3 separate regions of the Homo sapiens genome follow, and all the other regions are linked to region 1. Evidence: promoter capture Hi-C in human tissues and cell types (Jung and others, 2019). All regions are on one chromosome and are shown on one strand. Each heading gives the region's core, a stretch centred on a gene start or on the middle of the fragment in contact. The rest is flanking DNA. Distances are from core to core; before and after follow the strand shown. Region 1 holds the start of RAX (retina and anterior neural fold homeobox). Region 2 has its middle 13 kb from the start of SEC11C. Region 3 has its middle 54 kb from the start of LMAN1.

Evidence for each region. The method cuts DNA at HindIII sites, captures the fragments that hold promoters and counts their contacts. A contact is called where the count stands out against the background at its distance.
Region 2: a contact is called between a fragment that was not itself captured here and the fragment with the promoter of RAX in region 1, in 2 of the 25 tissues and cell types used here (mesendoderm cells and thymus).
Region 3: a fragment that was not itself captured here is called in contact with the fragment with the promoter of RAX in region 1 in 3 of the 25 tissues and cell types used here (H1 embryonic stem cells, heart left ventricle and mesendoderm cells).

What each region holds. Positions count from the first base shown.
Region 1 is chr18:59,272,204-59,275,811 of GRCh38, forward strand. It overlaps RAX (retina and anterior neural fold homeobox), which reads right to left and starts at 1,251. Exons shown (of 3, transcript NM_013435.3): 1 at 715-1,251; 2 at 158-411. The coding sequence starts at 1,003. The HindIII fragment of the contact is 4,384 bases long and covers 987-3,608 here.
Region 2 is chr18:59,125,412-59,128,706 of GRCh38, forward strand. No RefSeq gene overlaps it. Among named protein-coding and RNA genes, the nearest start is that of SEC11C, 13 kb to the right of the region's middle. The HindIII fragment of the contact is 3,708 bases long and covers 1-3,295 here.
Region 3 is chr18:59,411,575-59,415,080 of GRCh38, forward strand. No RefSeq gene overlaps it. Among named protein-coding and RNA genes, the nearest start is that of LMAN1, 54 kb to the left of the region's middle. The HindIII fragment of the contact is 5,733 bases long and covers 1-3,506 here.

The DNA of each region.
Region 1 (3,608 bases), core at 1-2,500:
CATCGAAGATCTGTGCCTCTCCCTTGAGACTCTGGGCATGCCAAGTCGAGGAAGGACAGTAATAAATGCATGGACACCCGTGAATTCCGAGAAGCATTGGCTGCAATTTGGGCCTCGGGCCCTCCCAGATCCCAGTTCCTCAACCTGGGCGCTTTACCTGGACCCGGACCTCTGGTAGGTTGACCTTGCCGGCCAGCTCCTCGCGGCTGTACACGTCCGGGTAGTGGGACTTCTCGAACGCGCGCTCCAGCTCATGCAGCTGGTACGTGGTGAAAGTCGTGCGGTTCCGCCGATGCTTTTTCTTGGGCTGTTCCTCCTCTGACAGTTTCGCTTCGCCGGTGGCTGGCCCGACGGGCAGCCCTGGGCTCGGCCGTGCCTCCCCGGGCTCCTTGGGGCAGTAGGGTCGAGGGGCTGGGGCGACGAGGCCCGGGAGGGTCAGATGCACTCCCCAAAACACCCTTGGGCCGACCCCGCCTCGCTGTGGGCACTGGCCAGCCCGCCTGCGGGCTCCGAGATGGCCCGGGGAGGTCCGTGGTGAGGGCGGCGATGGGTCCTAAGCTTTCTCTGAATGCAAATTGGAAGCTCCCGCCATAGACGGTCCCCAACCCCGCGCCCAGTTGCCTTAATAAAAGTTAAGGAAGGGGCGCTCTCGTCTGGCCAACTCCTAAGCTCGGGCGCCCGAACGGCCTCGCACAGCCAGGGGTGCGCACTCACCTTCGTACTCGGGGGCGGGCGCCGGGGCTGGCGGCGGGGAGGGCTCGGAGCCTTCCTCGGGCGCCTTGGGGCAGGCGGGCCGCGCGCCCAGCCTCCTATCCCGCTCCTTCGCGCCCCGGGCGCCCCGCTCCGCCGGGAAGGTGCCGAGGATCCCGTCGTCCTTGGTAAACCCCAGGATGGCCTCGATGCTGTGAAGTCGCGAGGTGCTCCCGCCCGGGCTGCGGAGCAGGTGGCCGGCAAGCGAGAAGCTCCCGTCGGCCATGGCTGGCGCGCAGCCCGGCAGGTGCATGGGGAGCGCCGGGAGGCGGGAGGGCGCTTTGGAGACGGAGAGGAGAGGCTCGAAGCCGGGTCTTCCCGAGTGCGGCGGTGCAACCCGACGGGTCCCGACCCTAGGTCAAGCTCCGCGGGCGAAGCCCGCCCGGGCTGCGCACGCTGGGGGTGGCCGAGCGCTCAGCCCGCTGCCGCCTTAGTCCCAGAAGTCGGAAGTTCGGGCTCGGGGTAGCTGGGGCTCTCGGCGCTAAAGGCGGGGAGCCAACTGGCCCTCGGCTCCTCCCCTCTCGCCCTGGACCCAGCCCCTTCTCTCGGCCCCTCCCTCCACAGAGGGGCGTGTCCTCACCCGGCCCAGCCACAGGGTCCTCTAGTGGCCACCCCTGGGCCGGCACTAGGAATATTCCCCTTCCACCTCTTGATCCGTTTTAAGCTTTACAAACACACTCCGGGGATCCGCGGCGGGATGCCTGATGGGCTCGGGAACCTGGTCGCGGCGCACCCCTAGTCCTGCCTCAGTGGGGCCGACGCCCTTGGGCTCATCTCTCCCCTTGCGTTTGTCTCCCTCTACTTCGGGCTTACCCTCTCACTTCAGACTACCCCCTGGGGGTCACCTCCCTCCTTGGACGCACCCCTCCCCAGCTTCAGACTCGCCCCTCTAGCCCCCTCTGGCTCACCTCCGCGGGGCCGCCACCCTGGCCTGTGCCCCCTGGAAGCGCCGAGACCCAGCCGAAGGCTTCCCAGCCCCGCACTCGTCGCAGTTTGAATTTCCCCTCGCTGGCTCCCTTTTCGGGACCCACTCCTTTCTTGGCTGGGTTGTACGAAGTCCCGGACCTCGCGTTTAGTTTGTCCGTCTATATCTGTTGTAACTCCTCCCAGTCCCCTCGGACTTGAGCGCCGGCAGCCTCCCTCCTTCCCCGCAGCGCCCACCCCAGGGCCATTTATGTCCGCAAGTCCGGTGACCTCTAGCGCCCGATCGCCCAGCAGGAGACTGGGAGCCCCGAGTCGGATGTGCTGCCGGGCTCAGGTCCCGCAGGAGACCCACCTGGAGTTCCTCGCTCCCGCCCCTTGTCCTGCGGGGAGGGCGGGCTCCTTTACTGATGAGCAGCGGTGTCGCACTCCCGCCTCCCTCCAACACTCCGGGCCAAGGAGATGGCCCAGAGCTGGCTGGGGAAGGACCTTCTCCCGGGGAAGAGGCCTCTCGCCTCCCCGAGGGTTCAGGAGTAATTGGCTTGCAGTTCTTTCTCCTTTGGACCCCCTCGAGGCTTCCGTGGCCCACAGTGACTGATCGGCCACTTGGAAAGATGATTGGATAGGGTGAGTGTGTTTCACCTCCAGCAGCGCGGATGGACAATGGCGCTGTGAACGTCTCACCCCTCAAATCTGAGGCGAGACCCGAGGCGAGCGCTTGGCCTTCCCTGAACTGGTGGCCTGAACCGTGAATTAAAATGCTTTCCTATAAAAGCTCAAGGACCTAGAGGACAATATCCCTAAAATCTCCTTTTCAGTAGGCGCTCTGATCTCCACAGCAGGGGTGTCTTCTTTATCCCGCTTGCGTTCAGACAAGCGTTTGCTGCGTCCCTTTAGAGGGCAAGGCAACCGTCGAGGGCCACGTCGTGGGCATCAAACAAATTGGGAAAGGCCAGGGCCGTTGGCCTGGTGGAGTTTAACGTCCAGTCTGGAAGACAAGACAAAGGAAGAGGGAAAACACACATCCTCAGATCCCCAACCTTTAAATTGGTGTTAGAAGGATGTTTGCGGAGGACAAGTCAATTTCTTAAGGATCATTCAATGGTTAATTCCCCATGATGGGCATATCTACTTTTAATAAAACTATATAATGGCAAACTAAAATAAGGGCAAGCATGTGACTGCAGGAGATAGAAATTGAACTAATTCAAGTCAGAAATTATCTTTTAAGAAAAAAGCTAAAATTAATGAAAGTTAATAGCACTTTACAGTGTTCACATATTACTTTATTTACTTATTATTTATTTGTCTGTTTATTTTAGAGACAGGGTCCCTCTCTGTTGCCCAGGCTGGAGTGCAGTGGCATGATGGTGGCTCACTGCAGCCTGGAACTCCTGGGCTCAAGCAATTCTCTCGACATGTCACTTTGTAGGTTTCAGAATCTTCTCACATTCTTCATGTCATCTGATCTTCACAACCTTGTGAGGTGAGCAGGACAGACATATTGGTCCCCATTTTACAGAAGAGGAAACTGAGGCTCAAAGTGATACAGCTATTAAGTGGAAGGGTCAGGACTAGAACTCAGGCCACTGACTCCTTGTCCAGTGTTTTCTGCCTGCAGCTCATTTGTAATTATTATTGTAGTGTGTGATCTTTTTGAAAAGAATCAAAGCCCATCTTAGCCTGCAGTCTGTCTTTAATCCTTCCCTGAGACTGGATTCTGCATCTAAGAGGCGGAGGTAGAAGCAGTTTAGCTCCCAGAAGAAATAAAGTCAGAGCCTATAGAGAGTGGGCTTTGGGTACCGGCATCCAGGGCAAATTAACAAACCCTCTGGAAAGTCCCCTGACAGACCAGGTTTTGCCTCCTCCTCCGCCCCTCCTCCACCTTTCCAGGGCCCACAAATGGCCTGGTGGCACCCGAAAAGGTCTGACTGCCA
Region 2 (3,295 bases), core at 509-3,008, 150 kb before region 1:
CCTGTTTTTTTAAGGGCCTACTGTTAAGGAGGTGCCATATGAACAGTGTTGAGGATGATTTTTAGTCAGTGCTTGTCCCTTGCTCCATTTTCACTAGTGAATTTAGGAGCTGTTCAGTAACATTTCAAGAGAGGTTCGCGGATTGCCTTGTCTTTTAGAGAAGATGCTGCTGTAGGTAGAAGTTTGACCCTGATGGGTTCTAAATCCCTTTGAAGCCTTAGAAGTTATGATCCTAAAAAATAATTGGCCAACAGCTGGGTGATTTGGACTGCAAGTTCACCCATGGCCAAGACACATAGATCATTTTGTTGGAAATATAGGGCTGTTGGAAGAGTGGTTATATTAAGAGTTGCCTCAGTTATCCACTTTGCTTTGGGTCAACAAGACTTAAATATGGAACCATTATTTTGAATGTAATTCCTTAAAGCCTAGTCCAACAACGTAAGTTTCCCCCTGCCTTCCAGATTTAGTTATTTGTATGACATTGAAAAGTCATTTCTCTCTCTGAGCCTTAGCTCACCATCAGTTAGGTGAAAAAGTTTTACCCATGTGATTTCTATGGTACCTTCTAAGTTTCACATAGCTTGACTGTCTAAAATCTTTTTTTTTTTTTTTTTTTTTGAGATGGAGTCGTGCTCTGTGACCCAGGCTGGAGTGCAGTGGCGCGATCTTGGCTCTCTTGGGTTCAAGTGATTCTCCTGCCTCAGCCTCCCAAGTAGCTAGAATTACAGGTGCATGCCACCGTGCCTGGCTAATTTTTGTATTTTTAGTAGAAATGGAGTTTCACCATGTTGGCCAGGCTGGTCTCGAGCTCCTGACCTCAAGTGATCTGCCCACCTCAGCCTCCCAAAGTGCTGGGATTACAGACATGGGCTGCTGTGACTGGCTAAAATCTTATTGTGTGGGATTAGAATTTAGTTTAGCCTTTCTGGAGGGAAATTTAAAATTTAAATGTTAATGCTGTTTGGCTAAGTGATCCAATTTCTAGGAATTTTATCTTACAAAACTGCCAAGACACCCCCCACCCCACCCCACATCATAACATTGTTTCAAAAGCAACAAGTAGAAACAAATTAATAAGAAGGGAGAGGGGCTAGATCTGGAAGGACACACAGCATACTTCCAACACTGGGAAATAACTTGGATTGCATTGAGAGTGGAGTGGGGTGAAGGGAGATTTCATTTGTCTGTAATCTGGGTTTTCCATGGGAATATTTATGTGTTACTTGTGTGACTATATGAAAAAAACCCACCCAGCTTATTAAGTCAGATATTGTATTTGGTGGTTGGAGTAGCCTCTTCAATGATTAGTTATACCAGTCAGGGTGCAGTCAAGAGACAAAGATCACACCAGTAATTTGAACAAAGAAAATTTAACATGTTAATAACTAGCAACTAATAACAGTGGATTAACTACTTAGGGAGTAAAGAGAACTCTAAAGAATACAGGACTAGCAGATACAGGGAGTAGCCACGACTTATAGGGCTGAAGCAGTATACCCAAGAACAGAACAAACTTGAAAGAGGATCTGCCTCCTGATGTCTGAGATTAGATTTCGAAGCTGTGGCTGTGGTCCCCTGGATGGTAGAGAAGTTCTCTGAGGTGTGACGGGCTAGGATGGCAAGCAGGAAACTGCCCACAGAAGTGCCAGTGAGATGCACTGGAAGACCATCCACGGCACTGGTGAAACTCAAAGGGCAGCCAACCGCTGTGCAAACATTGTGACTTGCTGGAGGGTGAGCAGCACTGGGAATCACGCGTGCCACTGGTATCTAAATACCACAGGTATCTACATACCACAGGAACAGGGGAAAAGGCACACGAGAGCCTGTCCTCCTCTGGTGTCCCCCTAGTGCTCTCTATTGGCAAAGCTTAACATTGTGTCAGCTGGCAATGGAGAAAGTTCACAGGGTTCAGCTCTGTATCACAAAGCAGGGCAAGGAAGGGTAGATTTGGAGAGAGGTCATAATTGTTCAAAGGCACAGGTCGCTCATTTAGCTAATCAGCTTCCATATGCATCCTCCTATACATGTTTGAACTTCTGGACAACAATTAAACAACTCTATATTTCCAATGAACAAGCAGCAGCTAACCTTTGAATAAGTGAAAAAGTTCTCACTTTCTCCAAAATGAGGACATATGCAGTCCCAGTCATTGTATCCTTGCTGGCTATATTATTTATTTTTTAAATTCAGTCACAGTTCCACTGAATATTCTGTTACCTAAAGACTAAATTATAAAGTTAACATCCAAGAACTTGCATATAAATGGATAATAGGTAGGAGGAAGAAGAACAAAATGGTTATAACATGCAAATTAATATGTACATATAATAGGCAAATAAAAAAATATGCAGCTGTAATATAGCCCTCATTTCTATAATTGGCCACAAGGTCAAGGTGATGATTTTATTCTACCACTACCCATTCTATAGTTCCCTTATTTCAGCGTGCAACTTGGCTGATAATTATTGTTTATATGGTGAAGTAACCAAAAACTTTGTTTTTCAAAGGTCTGAGTCCTCAGTAGTTCTGTCTTTTAAAGAAATTTTTGGCTGCTGTAGCCATTTTTTATTGAACATGAAAGAACTAAAAGACATCCTAGAGTACCCACTGAGTTTCAGATAGAGCTCTCCTTGGCCCCATTTTGTAGTAGCAATCCGATTTTCTTTTAGTAATCAGAATCAATTATTCCAGCCATTTTTCTGCTTTCTGATTCAGTGTATAAGGAGCCCAAGGGGCTCGAGGGTAGTTTCATCTGCCAATTTGATGGAGCCATTGCTGTGTCCCTAGCAGGAGCATTTCCCCTTGGGGAATAAGATTGCCAACTAGCAGAGCTTAAGGTTGCCAAGATGGGAAGCAAATTTTTGAGAGTACATTACCGGGTATAATATTGAGAGGAACCAATCTCATTTCCACTTTTTTATTTCTGGACTCATGTGTTCTGGTTATGGAAACAGCACTACATAATTGTTATCAATTGAAAGCATATACTGCATTCTATAAGACAAAACTAAAATTTTTAGAATTATCTCCAAATTGATATCATTATCAAAGCTTCAGGGAGCCCTCCGACTTTTCAATCAGGCCAGCTGCTTATGAGTGATGAGGTATGTAATAAAAGCAGTTTATTACATAGGCATGAACCAATGCTGAATATGTTCTTTGCTGTGAAATTAGTTCCTTGATCAGAAGCAATAGTGATGCTGCATGTAATGCCATGACGATGGGTAAGGAATGCTGTGAGTCCACAGATGGTGGTGCTAGCAGAAGCATTTGATGCAGAGAAGGCATA
Region 3 (3,506 bases), core at 782-3,281, 140 kb after region 1:
TGATAGTTTTGTCTATTCTTTCCTATACTTGCGTCTTTAGATCTCCTGGTGTTCTTCCATTTTACTACGGTGTATATATGAGTGTGTCTCCTTTCCATTTAATTGCATTTTGTTTGGCTTTTTGAATCTGAAATGTTGTCTTTCAACAATTCAGGAAAATTCTCTGCCATTCTCTATTACCCTGTCACTTTATCTTTTTCTATTTGTTTTGTTTTGTTTTTCATTTTGAGACAAGGTCTCGCTCTGTTGCCTAGGCTGGAGTGCAGTGGTGCAGTCATGGCTTACTGCAGCCTTGACCTCTCTGACTCCATCCTCCTGGTTTGGCCTCCCAAGTAGCTGGTACTACAGGAGTACAGTACCACACCTGGCTAATTTTTTTAGAGATGTGTTCTATGTTGCCTAGGCTTGTCTCAGACTCCTGGGTTCAAGTGATCCTCCCACCTCAGCCTCCCAAAGTGCTGGGATTACAGGTGTGAGCCACCACGCCCAGCCATGCCCTGTCACTTTCTAATGCTTCCATCTAGAATTCCAATTAGCTTCATTTTCATCCTTGTCATATTGTTCCATATGTCTCTTCCTTCATATTTTTCATCTTTGCCTCCTGGTCTTCAATTTACTTTCCTTCAAATCCATTTTCCAGTTCACCAATTCTACTGTATCTTACCTGCTGTTTAAACCATTCACTTCATTTAAAAATAATAATTATAGTTTTCATTTAGAGAAGTGTTTTCGGTCCTCTTCCAAATCTGTCTGATCAAATTTGATAGTTCCATGTTCCTTGCTTTTTTTCAATGCCTTTTTTTCTTAAATTGTATTAAACATACTTATTGTCGATGGTGTATCCAATAATTCCATATTTGCATTCTTTGCAGTTCATTTCAGCACTTTATTGCTTCCGTCAACTCTTACTCCTTTTTTTTGCTATGTTTAATGATTTTTGACGAGGGGCTCATGTTTCTTGGAAATGTATCCGTGAGACTTTTCTTGGAGGCCTGAGTTTAAAGTATGTGCATCCAGAGGGATTTGTGTTTGCTTCTGCCAGGTGCCTGGGAACACTATCAGCCTGGGATTATTTGAAACTAAATTTTCATTGCAGACCATTTGAGGTCACAGAAGTTGTTTCAAGTCAGGCTGGTGATGCCTATGGATTCACTGGCTCCTCTGTGGATGTTTTCACCCCTACTCACCCATTGAGCATGTTGTACTTTGAGTATCCAGACTTTGGATTAAGACTTAAATCCAGTTTCCTCCTTTATTTTGGTTCCTAGGGTTGGGATAACAAAGTGCCACAAATTAGGTTGCTTAAACAGCAGAAACTTATCATCTCACAGTTCTGGAGGCTTGAAGTCCAAAATCAAGGCGTTGGCAGAGTTGGTTCCTTCTGAGGGATGTCCCATGCTCTCCCCTGGCTTCTGGAGGTTTGCAGGCGATCTCTAGTATTCATTGGTGTGATGGCATCACCCCAATCTCCGCCTTCATCTTTACATTCTGTGTCCATATTTTCCCCTTTTCATAAGGACACCAGTCATTACATTACATACATTAGAGTCCACCCTAAATGACCTCAAATTAACTCATTACATCTTTAATAACCCCATTTCCAAAAAAGGTCATATTCTGATGTACTGTGGGCTGGAATTTCAACATACGAATTTTGGGAAACACAATTCAACTCATAACATCCCTGTTTTGTCCCAAGCTTTCTTTCCAGTCCACACGTACATTTACATGTACATAGACACATGTACATGTCTATTTAAATGGTGGCTCCAAATAACAAGGGACTAGCAGACATGCAGTGGTAAATACCAACTCAAGTTCCTACTGGCCTCTTTGGATTTGTCATTTCTTTCTTTCCTTTCTTTCTTTCTTTTTTTTTTTTTTTTTTTTGACTGAGTCTCACTCTGTTGCCCAGGCTGGAGTGCAGTGGCATGATTTCAGCTCACTGCAACCTCCGCCTCACGGGTTCAAGTGATTCTCCTGCCTCAGCCTCCCAAGTAGCTGGGATTACAGGCATCTCTGACCTCCAAATAATCCCCTTAGTTTCCCGTCAAGTCAACCATGCATCTAAAAATATGTTTTTAAAATTTTAATCATCATGTTAAGCTTCATTAAAAGAATGAGTTTTTGTGAATATTTAGTCCAAAATATACCTGGAAATGGGAACCACTTTTGATGTAAGACCAAGGTAGAAGTCCACATGATTTCTCCTTGGAAAGAAACAAGAATTTCAAATTATTGGTTTAATGTGACCAACATTTTTGAGTAAATCTGTCAAATATTCCTCATCTTAAAAAAAGCACAAGATATGAAGGTGATGAAAACTAAACAAAATATAATCCTGGCAGGAATTCTATGTTAAAAAAAAGAAAATATTTAGCAGTACTGTGTATACTGCCTGAACTGGTGAGACCCTAATATAAATTTGGAAAGATTCAAATTTGTTTTCTTTCCCCTGACATATTTTTTAAAAGTTTGAGAGAATCCTCCAATAACTCTTTATCCCACCAGCAAATTACAGAGCTATAGAATGAAGACTATCTGCCCACACATAAGATCTGAACGTAATAATATATTTTACTTAGTCGCTTGATTGACTTAAGCAGATTGATGCTTATAAAGCCTGGATGCATGTGCTAATTTTTCAAGTGGCACATTTTACAGAGAGGATTTGTGTTTGCTTCTGCCAAAACATGGTTTCACAGTAACTCGGTTCTCAAATACTAGGACGGAGATTCGTTGAAGCATGCCATTAAAAAAACTTGATTTTACACTTTTCCGCCCACCTTTTTCACAACAGCACAGCAAAACCTAGCTTCTTTCCCCAAACTCCTCCTTCCCCTCCAACTTCATGCCTTGCCTTCCACAGGCCTGCCTGTGCCCCGCTGGCTGTGCTCCTGGCAAGAACTGTTTTCCTCCCACTGTCACTGCTTTTTAAAATGAGACGCATTCTGCAGCATTCTTTCTCTCTTCATCTCCCTTCTCTTCCTCAATTCTATTTCTGGATGAGTACATTGGCACATGTTTTTATTGTCAGGTTACACTTTCCCCCTGGTCAAAGAGAGGATGAATATGAAAGGGAGCCTCCTACATATTATTTATATTTCAAGTCTAATACAGAGGTTCTCAATGTATTGTTCATAGAACTTGTTAGAGAGGCAAATGTTCCAGTTCTACCCCCAAGATGTACTGAATCTCACACGCTGGGGGTGGAGCCAGCAATCTATTTTAACCATCTTTCCAGGTGATTCTTTTTTTTTTTTTTTTGAGATGGCGTCTCACTCTGCCGCCCAGGCTGGAGTGCAGTGGCGAAATTTTGGCTCACTACAACCTCCACCTCCTGGGTTCAAGTGATTCTCCTGCCTCATTCTCCCGAGTAGCTGGGATTACAGGCATGGGCCACCATGCCCGGCTAATTTTTGTATTTTTAGTAGAGACAGGGTTTCACCATGTTGGCCAGGCTGGTCTTGAATTCCTGACCTCAGGTGATCTGCCCACCTCAGCCT